Regions from separate parts of the Homo sapiens genome. Here region 1 is linked to region 2. The links are contacts of gene promoters, found by promoter capture Hi-C in blood cells and fetal thymus (Javierre and others, 2016). All regions are on one chromosome and are shown on one strand. Each heading gives the region's core, a stretch centred on a gene start or on the middle of the fragment in contact. The rest is flanking DNA. Distances are from core to core; before and after follow the strand shown. Region 1 holds the start of OLFML2B (olfactomedin like 2B). Region 2 holds the start of UHMK1 (U2AF homology motif kinase 1).

The links. The method cuts DNA at HindIII sites, captures the fragments that hold promoters and counts their contacts. A CHiCAGO score of 5 or more calls a contact.
Region 1: the fragment with the promoter of OLFML2B here is called in contact with the fragment with the promoter of UHMK1 in region 2 in 3 of 17 cell types (M2 macrophages, M0 macrophages and M1 macrophages); the score reaches 5.8 in M2 macrophages.

Annotation. Positions count from the first base shown.
Region 1 is chr1:162,020,429-162,025,470 of GRCh38, forward strand. OLFML2B (olfactomedin like 2B) reads right to left here and starts at 3,441. Exons shown (of 8, transcript NM_015441.3): 1 at 2,829-3,441. The coding sequence starts at 3,002. RefSeq lists silencers at 3,553-3,702, 3,771-4,065. The HindIII fragment of the contact is 12,162 bases long and covers 1-5,042 here.
Region 2 is chr1:162,494,635-162,499,924 of GRCh38, forward strand. It overlaps UHMK1 (U2AF homology motif kinase 1), which reads left to right and starts at 3,184. Exons shown (of 8, transcript NM_175866.5): 1 at 3,184-3,634. The coding sequence starts at 3,367. RefSeq lists enhancers at 2,920-3,420, 3,155-3,234, 3,421-3,921. The HindIII fragment of the contact is 6,861 bases long and covers 1-4,248 here.

The sequences.
Region 1 (5,042 bases), core at 2,191-4,690, 470 kb before region 2:
TTCATTATTTAAAGGAAAAACCAGATGAGCCAAGTCATTTGTCCAATAGCCTTTGCCTTCTGCTACAATCCAGGTTTAGGCTTTCTTTTCTTTCTTTCTTTTTCTTTTTTTTTTTTGAGACAGAGTCTCACTCTGTTGCCCAGACTGGAGTGCAGTGGCATGATCTCAGCTCACTGCAACCTCCACCTCCCAGGTTCAAGTGATTCTCCTGCCTCAGCCTTCCAAGTAGCTGGGATTATAGGCACATGCTACCATGCCCAGCTAATTTTGTATTTTCAGTTTCACCATGTTTGCCAGGCTGGTCTTGAACTCCTGACCCTAAGTGATCCACCTGCCCCGGCCTCCCAAAGTGCTGGGATTACAGGCGTGAGACACCGCACCCAATCAGAATCCAGGTTTAAGTGTAAAAAGGAAAAGAAGAAATTGGAGAGATTGAAAAGTTGGTATTCAAGTTTGAAGACTACTGGCATCTCTCATTCATTTATTCAACATTTATGGAGTGCCTACTAAGGACTGTGAGGTGCTGTGAAGGATAAAGAGATGGGCCAGATGGAGAGCCTGCTCTCAAGAAGCCTACAGTGCAGGAGGCATAGAAATAGCAGTCACACAGAGTACAGAGTGATAAGTGCCCCCGAAGAGGCAGAGGGAAAGGGCAGTGGGAGCTAAGAGCGGCTCCAACTGGAAGCCAGGGAAGACTTCTTCGAGGAGTGGCATTTAATCTGGGCCTTGAAGGATGGGTTAGATGTGGAGAAAGGGAATTGAGAGGAAAGAGGCAGGTCCAGAAGTTAGTAAGGTTTACTCAGTCTAAGAGTTCATGCTTCTGAACCTAAACCCCAGGCCAAACCCAGGAAAGCAAACTGGCAGCACTTGCTGCTTTTGCAATGCTAAACATTTCCTTCTGGGCACTTGCCCCTGCCAGCCTCCCCAGGCAGGAAAACACGCGACAGTAGGCTTTCTGGAGCCCCAACTCTGGGCGCTTGCTGGGAAAAGGCTCTTCTCTCCCAATCCTCTCCAAAAGGCCCTACATCCCCAAAGCCAGGGCTCCCTTCCTAGGCAGGCAGAAGGGTTCCCTTCATTTGATTAATGATTTCAGTGGGCAAGCATTGAGCTTGTTTGAGTAGAAATGTTCCTTGGGATGCTGTCTGGGGGAAGAAGACTTGTAATGTTTTCCTTGCAAAGATTGGGTTTCTTCTAATACTAATATTTGCTTTAGGGCTGTTGTCAAACACAGAATGGATCAGTGGAAGAAGGTGGTGTAGTTAAGGGTGACTTAAGCGGCTGTTCTTTACGGGCTGATAGTAAATTGTGGCTGTCTGCTCTCTGAAACTCTGCCTGGATTCCTACATAACCCTGCTCTGAGAACCCTGGGTGGATTCCTTCCTTACAGGAGGCTCGGGTTTCAGGAAAGTTTTTGTTGATAGTGTTCCAGAGCCCCAGTGTGAGAGATTTTTATGTCTTTTCGATTTAGGGGTCAGTGGGAGGTAATGGGGGGGCAGAGGGCATACATTAGCATCATTATTAAAGGAAGAGTGAGGAGGCTAGTGTTTGATAAATCCCAAAGTGCAGCTGATTATTCTCTCTACAGGAAGGAGACAAGGCCCAGTCCTAGGGCTTGGTGGAGGTGAAGGTACAGGCAGCCCTGGAGGATCCTTTTTCAGACATCCCCCATTCTGAGGATTCTGGTGACACCCACCACACGTCATCATGCCGGCTCTGGAGAGCACAAAATAAACACTCCAGAGAGAACTACCCCTTACAGACATGAGATCTGGGCTGAAGACTGTCAGACGCCCTGGCTCTACCCATGTATCTCTTCTTTTTTTTTTTTTTTTTTTTTTTTGAGACGGAGTCTCACTCTGTCACTCAGGATGGAGTGCAGTGGCGCGATCTCCGCTTACTGCAACCTCCACCTCCCGGGTTCAAGCGATTCTCCTGCCTCAGCCTCCTGAGTAGCTGGGACTACAGGTGCCTGCCACCACGCCTGGCTAATTTTGGTATTTTTAGTAGAGATGGGGTTTCATCATATTGGCCAGGCTGCTCTTGAACTCCTGACCTCGTGATCTGCCCGCCTCGGCCTCCCAAAGTGCTGGGATTACAGGCGTGAGCCACCGCGCCCGGCCTACCCATGTATCTCTTATGGTCTTTATCTATAAATGGGTATTAGGGTGTTTTGAAGATTGAGTCAGAAAAAACAAGTTTAAGTACTTGGTAAACGGACACTTTACGAAGCCCATCACTATCATGGGTTACTCGGGCCCCCACTGACAGTCTGCCCTAGCTGCCTGCATCTGCATTCCCACTCTCCCCTCCCAGTACACTCCGTCATGTTCTCAGTCTCTCTGTTTGGGGGTCACCTCACATTCATCACACATGCTTCTGTTCTGACTTCACCCCATGCTCCCGCCTGGTGTCCCACCCTCTGCCATAAAGTATCTCCCGATGGGATATGCCATCTGCCTCCTGGTCAACATATCCGGCTGTTTTCACATTCCAATTCTGACAGACAGCCACATAGACAAGAGATACTTTTTACAACCCTGAAACCAAAAACAACTTTGTTTTCTTTCTTCTCAAGAAGTCGAGCGGCATCTTCCCTTCCTTCACCTCTCCTTTCTCCTGATTTGATGACCTTTAAGCACCCTATGATTTTGCGAGGAGAACCTATATCCTTCCATTAAGAAAATATTCCGATACATGAAAAATCAAAAGCCCTTTCCATTGGTAATGGAAGGAAAAACAGCTGCCCTCAAACACTTCAGCAAGGACCAGCTTCTGGCTCTCACCACCATCCAGGGCAAGAAGGGCGGTCGTGGCACTCTGCATCCTACCTGAGATAAAACGTTCTCCTGGTTGTCCGCCTCGTTTTGCAGAGTCTCGTCCTCCGCAGGCGCCACTGTCTGCGCATCTGGGGGCTCGCTTGTCCCTGTGAGGACAATGCTGGACACCCAGGCCGGAACCACAATCAGAGCGAAGTAGAGAACTAGCAGCCGAGGCTTGGCCATGAGGGGCGCGATAAGAGTGTCCTCAGCCCCTTCAGAGAATGGCTGGGGCGGGGGGTCTCGGCAAGGACTTCTGCGAGAGGGTGTCCTCGCTAGAGCCCGAAAGTGGCTGCTGAGAGCACCTTCTAAAGCTGGGTGCGGCTGAGCGGGACGGGAGGGTGCGCCCCAGAGACTCTGGGCATCTCCTTCCCGACGCGAGCAGCCCTCGACTGTGCAGCCCCAGTGGAGAGCCGGACGCAAGGAAGAGGGGATGACGGAGAAGGTGGAGGCGGGCACGGGCTAGCTGAGCGAGTCGCCCGCAGGAGGGCTCAGGTGGCTGGAAGGCGTTCGGACAGACGCCCGCGGTGCGCGCCGGGACGGGCGGCGGGGAGCCTCGGGACGCACGGGGACCGGACACGGGGAGGGAAGAGGCGGTGGCGGCGCGGGCTGCTGGGCGAGGGCTGCTGGGCTAGGGAGCCGCGGAGAGCTCGCGCGGAAGGAGGGCGGAGCCTCTATTGTGCCGGGGCGGCGGAGATGCAGCCAGTGACCGCGCGGAGGAGGAGGACCTGGAAGCGCACAGGGCTCGGGCGGAGGGGTACCCGGCGGACCCCGTCCCCGCTGGGACTCAGCTGCCGCGCGCCGGCTGAGGGTGACGTTGGAAGGGCTTTACTTTCTTCTCATCTGATCGCAAGTGAGTGAAGAGAAGTTACTCCGAGCGGCGTCCCTGAAGTTTTGGGGTTCGACCATTCTTGGCGAGAAGAGCGACTTTCCATCGCAGGCACCCAGCGCTCGCTCCAAGGCTGAGCTAGTTAGGGATCTGCGGCATCGTCCTTTAGCACACCTGGGGCAGGGGAGAAGGCGCGTTTGTTCCCAGGCGTTTCTTTTCCCTGACTTAACTCTGGGCGAGTTCTCGGGCAGCTTTGAACTTAGCGCCGTTGGTAGCTGCTTGCCTGCCACGGCTTTAGAACCTAGTAATACCTCCACCCAGAGGAAAATCATTGAATTCCTTCCTAGAGTGTGTCCTGAGTTGTGTAAACGTTGAAAGTTAGGGGAATGACTGTACATCTCCGACACTCTCCGCGAGTCCCCATGGGGAAAGCTACTGCCTGATAAATGATTACCAAAGGGAACAGCTCTTCCTGTCTTCCTGGTTTGGGACAAATCTCCGGGTCTCTGTTACCAGATTATCTCTAAGAGGGAGTCCACTTTCAATAGTGTGCAATTATGTTACTATGTCCCTCAATTACTGAGGACAACCTTTTATAAACCTACAGTGAAGATTACCAATATGTGAATTTAAGGAAGGGCACTGTGCCATCCTGGACAACTGTCACTCGGAATATTGAACAGAGCCAGGCCCCTTCAAAGGATATTATGCACCCTTGGGAAATTCAAACACCTTGCTTCTTATGCTGAGGAATAAGGGTTGTAATAAACTAAGGAAACTAGCGCATATAAGTAATAGTTGACATAAGTATAATAATAACCCTTATTAGTATATTTTAATCTTCAAAAAATTCAGTTTATGGACAAAAATTCAATGCTCTGGGTGTCTAGGTTTGTGGGGACATCATGCACACACCCTCCTCTGTGTAAGCTATCAAATCTTTTCTGAAACTATATGGGGGTAAACATTGATAAAATGTGGTGTATTTGATTGTTTGTTTGAGACAGAGTCTTGCTCTGCCACCCAGGCTGGAGTGCAGTGGCGGGATGATCTTGGCTCACTGCAACCTCCGCCTCCTGGGTTCAAGTGATTCTCGTGCCTCGACCTTCAGAGTACCTGGGATTACAGGCGCACGCCACCATGCCCGTTTAATTTTTTGTATTTTTACTAGAGTTGGGGTTTCGCCGTGTTGCCAGGCTGGTCTCGACCTCCTGGCCTCAAGCCATCCATCCGCCTTGCCCTCCCAAAGCACTGGGATTACAGGGGTGAGCCACTGTGCCCCACCGATAAAGTGTAGTTTTAAAATTCAGTTAAGGGGCGGAGTGTGGTGGCTCACCCCTGTAATCTCTACTGAAAATACAAAAATTAGCCTAGCCTGGTGGCATGCACCTGTAATC
Region 2 (5,290 bases), core at 1,934-4,433:
AGTGAGCCAAGATCGCACCATTGCACTCCAGCCTGGGTGAAATTCCATCTCAAAAAAAAAGCAAAACTCTGTCTCAAAAAAAAAAGAGGCCGGGCATGGTGGCTCACGCCTGTAATCCCAGCACTTTGGGAGGCTGAGGCAGGCAGATCACAAGGTCAAGAGATAGAGACCATCCTGGCCAACATGGTGAAAATACAAAATTAGCGGGGCGTGGTGGTGGATGCCTGTAATCCCAGCTACTCGGGAGGCTGAGGCAGGAGAATCGCTTGAACCCAAGAGGCGGAGGTTGCGGTGAGTCAAGATCGTGCCATTGCACTCCAGCCTAGGCAACAAGAGCGAAATTCCGTCTCAAAAAAAAAAAAGGAAATATATTTGGGGTTAAAATATTTGTATTTCCTTCTTTATCTGTCATGTGATGTTATGCCAGAGTTAGGTTGGAAAGTAAGTCACGTTATATGGGGTTAAACAAAACCCATCTTGTGGCCGGGTGCAGTGGCTCATGCCTGTAATCCTAACACTTTGGGAGGCCAAGGTAGGAGGATTACCTGAGGTCAGGAGTTCGAGGCCAGCCTGACCAACATGGCAAAACCCCGTCTCTACTAAAAATACAAAATTTAACCGGGCATGGTGGCGCATGCCTATAATCCCAGCTACTCGGGAGGCTGAGGTGGGAGAATTCCTTGAACCCAGGAGGCAGAGGTTGCAGTGAGCTGAGATCACGCCACTGCACTCCAGCCTGGGTGATAGAGTGAGACTTTGTCTCAAACAAACAAACCAACCAACCAACCTATCTTGTTACTGGAAAGTGGTCTCAATCCAGACCCCAGGAGAGGGTTCTTGGACCTCACGCAAGAAAGAATTCAGAATGAGTCCATAAAGCAAGTTTATTAGGAAGTAAAAGGGATAAAAGAATGGCTACTCCATAGGCAGAGCAACAGCTTAGGCTGCTCGACTTATAGTTATTCATATTTATAGTTATTTCTTGATTATATGCTAAACAAGGGGTGGATTATTCATGAGTTTTCCAGGAAAGGAGTGGGCAATTCCTGGAACTGAGGGTTCCTCCTCTTTTTAGACCATGTAGGGTAACTTCCAGGACGTTGCCATACCATTTGTAAATTGTAATGGTGCTGGTAAGAGTTTCCTTTAGCATGCTAATGTATTATAATTAGCATCTAATGAGTAGTAAGGACGACCAGAGGTCACCTTCACCACCATTTTGGTTTTGGTGGGTTTTGGCTGGCTTCTTTACTGCAATCTGTTTTATCAGCAAGGTCTTTGTGACCTGTATCTTGTGTTGACCTCCTATCTCATCCTGTGACTTAGAATACCTAACTTCCTGGAAATGCAGCCCAGTAGATCTGAGCCTTATTTTACCCAGCTCCTATTCAAGATGGAGTTGCTCTGGTTTGAACACCTCTGACAATCTGATGAGATTTTATGGTTTGTAGGCTGTGACTCCTCACATCCCTTAGATAAGAATTTGGGGCCAGGTGCAGTGGCTCACGCTTGTAATCCCAGCACTTTGGGAAGGTGAGGCAGGCGGATCACAAGGGCAGGAGTTCGAGACCAGCCTGACCAACATGGAGAAACTTCATCTCTACTAAAAATACAAAATTAGCTGGCATGGTGGCAAATTCCTGTAATTCCAGCTACTTGGGAGGCTGAGGCAGGAGAATCGCTGGACCCCAGGAGGAGGAGGTTGCGGTGGGCGGAGATGCCGAGATCATGCCATTGCACCCCAGCCTGGGCAACAAGAGCGAAACTCCGTCTTACCAAAAAAAAAAAAAAAAAAAAAAAAAATTGAGCAAGAGAGAAGACAGGTCAGAGTTTAGTCCTCAACCTCTCCTCAAACTTTCCACTTAGCACTACATGAACCATCTCATCTGGCTGGGAACTTACACAAAACCTGAAGAAAAGAAGATAGGGCCTATTGTCTGATACTAAGTTTTTGCCACACAATCAGAATAGATCTTGAAATAGAAAAGGTTGAATGACTGAAAAGTAAAGAAGGCTACATTTCTTACACACTCGAGTTTGTGGATTGAGATGCCTATTTGCTACATTTGTTACTCAATAAACGTTTGCTGAATGAATAAAATAATTGAATAAATAAATGAAAAATAAAAATTTGGAACAGATCCGTGTTTGCCCAGGGTGAATGCTTTTTGATGAGGGAGCCATAGGCAAGGTGGACTATGTTGATAAAAAGAGTTAAACTCTGTAAAATATTTGAAGAGATTTATTCTGAGCCAACTATGAGTGACCATGGTCTGTGACACAGCCCTCAGGAGATCCTGAGAACATGTACCCAAGGTGGTTGGGGTGCAGCTTGGTTTTATACATTTTGGGAGACATGAGACTTCAATCAAATATATTTAAGAAATACATTGATTTGGCCCAGAAAGGTGGGAAAACTCGAAGCGGGAATTGGTGGGGGGAGAAATGGGTCCTTCCAGGTTATAGGTAGATTTAAAATTTTTCTAATTGGCAATTGGTTGAAAGAGTTATCAATAGAAAGGAATGTCTGGGTTGTCATAAGAACTTGTGGAGACCAAAGTTTTGTCATGCAGATGAAGCCTCCAGGTACCAGGCTTCCAAGAAAATAGATTGTAAATGTTTCTTACCAGACCGAAGGTCTGTGTTGACCTTAACCGGAGAGGTATGAGGCTAGTCGGACCCCCACTTCCCGTCATGGACTGAACCAGAATTTTAGAGTGCCCTGGCCTGGGAGAAAGTCCATTCCGATGGTTGGCGACACGGGGGGCTTAGAATTGTATTTTCGGTTTACATCTAAAAGAAGAACAAAGGTCTAGGCTTCCAGAATCATGGGTTCTGGTGACCGTGGACCTGGAGGTGATGGTAAACTCTCTTTTTGTTCCTGGGGTGTTTTCCTTGGGATCCTTTCTATGAGAAATGTAGGCCGGGTTTTATTTTTCGGGTTCCTAGTGGTGAGGTAAGGTGAGGTGCCTCAACAAGAAAAAGGACCAGTTTTGGCTTCAGGTCTATGTGAAAGCGGTTAACACTGGGCCTGGAATGGTAGATACTCAATAATTAAGGTTACTTCTTATTCTCGGTTCTTTTTTCCAAACCTAGCGCGTCTAATCTCTTCTAGGCCCCGCCCCTTCTGAGCCCCCCCTCCTTCGGCCTGTATGATAGGCTCTTCCTCCATTTCCGGCTTCTGGGACTCGGGTGCACCACGGCTTCCGGTGTCATGGCTGCTTGAAGTCCCGGGAGTCGGTGAGGCGGCTGCAGGTCCCTCCCTGCGGAGCCGCTGGTCCGGCTGGCGGAGATGTGACCGCGGGCCCGGCCGGCCTGCCTCAGGCGTCGCGTCAGCTCCCGTGTCCGTGCCCTTAACCCACACCGATGGCGGGATCCGGCTGCGCCTGGGGCGCGGAGCCGCCGCGTTTTCTGGAGGCCTTCGGGCGGCTGTGGCAGGTACAGAGCCGTCTGGGTAGCGGCTCCTCCGCCTCGGTGTATCGGGTTCGCTGCTGCGGCAACCCTGGCTCGCCCCCCGGCGCCCTCAAGCAGTTCTTGCCGCCAGGAACCACCGGGGCTGCGGCCTCTGCCGCCGAGTATGGTTTCCGCAAAGAGAGGGCGGCGCTGGAACAGTTGCAGGGTCACAGAAACATCGGTAATTGCCGCTGTCTCCTTTCTCTTCTTGCCCAGGTCACAGTCCGAGCACACTCTTCCTCTCGCTGTCTGGCGTTCCATCTTCCTCCCCTTCTGCGGGAGAAGCGGGTTTAGCCCTCTTTATCACCCCATCCAGGCCCCTTTCCCCTTTCACTTTATTACTGTCTGCGGTATAGTGGAGTTGGTGGTCTGCTTTGCCAGGTGTCACATAGATGCTCAGTAAATTGTCTTGCTTCGAGTCTCATCGGAGAATGCCGCATTCATTAGCATACAGAAATATCTTTTCTAGTGAGAGGAGGCATGTCTTTGCTAGATTGTCGTGTCTTGTGTGGAAATTTTTGAATCTTTGCATACCAGTAGAAAATGGGAACTACGTCTGGGCCTTGTGACATCAATGCTAGTAACTCGTATAGCTCACCTATTATATCTTTAGTACGGATTTGGAAGAAATGATGCACTATTCCATGGGAGCCTTTATAGAAGTGTGAAATTTAGGAACACTATACCTTTGCTCTCTTGAGACTGTTTCAAGAATCAGATACTCAGAATGTAAGATATGTAATGATCACTGATGATTGATCTGTGAAAAGGTTTCATTTTCATTACACGACAGAAAGCTTATCATTAGTTATAGCTTTGGTTATTAAAGAAAAGTCTTATTTCCTAGCAAGTATGATGCATAGTTAATTTGAAGAGTGAGTTTTTTTATAATATCATTTTGGAGAAGAATTAACACTAGTGCTACATTTTTTTAGTTTACTAAATGGTCTGTTACTATAACCTTGGTATTGAAAAGGGAAAAATTTTGCAAGCCTAGGGACTTGCCTGATCTCTGCAAGATTAAAATTTCATCCGAAAAGTCTTAATCTCTTTGTTAGTATTTAGATTATAGAGAGCTGTTTATTTTTGTTTTAGTTTTTTTTTTTGAGACAAGTTCTTACTCTGTCACCCAGGCTGGAGTACAATGGCGAGATCACAGTTCACTCCAGCCTCCAATTCCTCCTAAAGCCATGCTCCTACCTCAGCCTCCCAGGTAGCTGGGACTACAGGCACGTAGCACCAAGCCTGGCTAATTTTTTGTAGAGAAGAGGTCCCCTTTTGTTACCCAGGCTGGTCTCCAAACTCCTGGGCTCAAGCAGTCCTCCTGCCTCGGTCTCTCAGAATGCTGGGATCACGGGCATGAGCCACCGTGGCAGACCTAGACTGCTGTTTTGGATGAAGAAGCAATGTTTAGTTTGGTTTTTGCGCATTGTGACATTCCTTTTAAAAGAGTTACTTAATATTTGGGTTTTTACTTTTAAAAATTTCTTTTTTTTTAAAGGACCTCATGATGCAACAGTAAGTTTTATTTATTTATATTTAGGTTTTTTACTTTTAATCATTTTTGCTTGGCACTCCAAGTTCGTGTTCATCACCAATGAGTACTTGGTGAAACACAAATTGAATAATTGTACCATATTTAGTATCTGTGAATGGTAATCAGCTGTTGTAGGCTGTCTCATCTTATTTTTATTAAAATAACCCAATTGCCAAAAGATCTTATTCATGGGAAAAATAAATTACAGTGGAAGCTTGCTCATCAAAGTTATCCTTATCTAGACTATCTCAAATTTGTACTGCAGTTACCTACTTTAGTAGTGACTTACTCTGAGTCTGA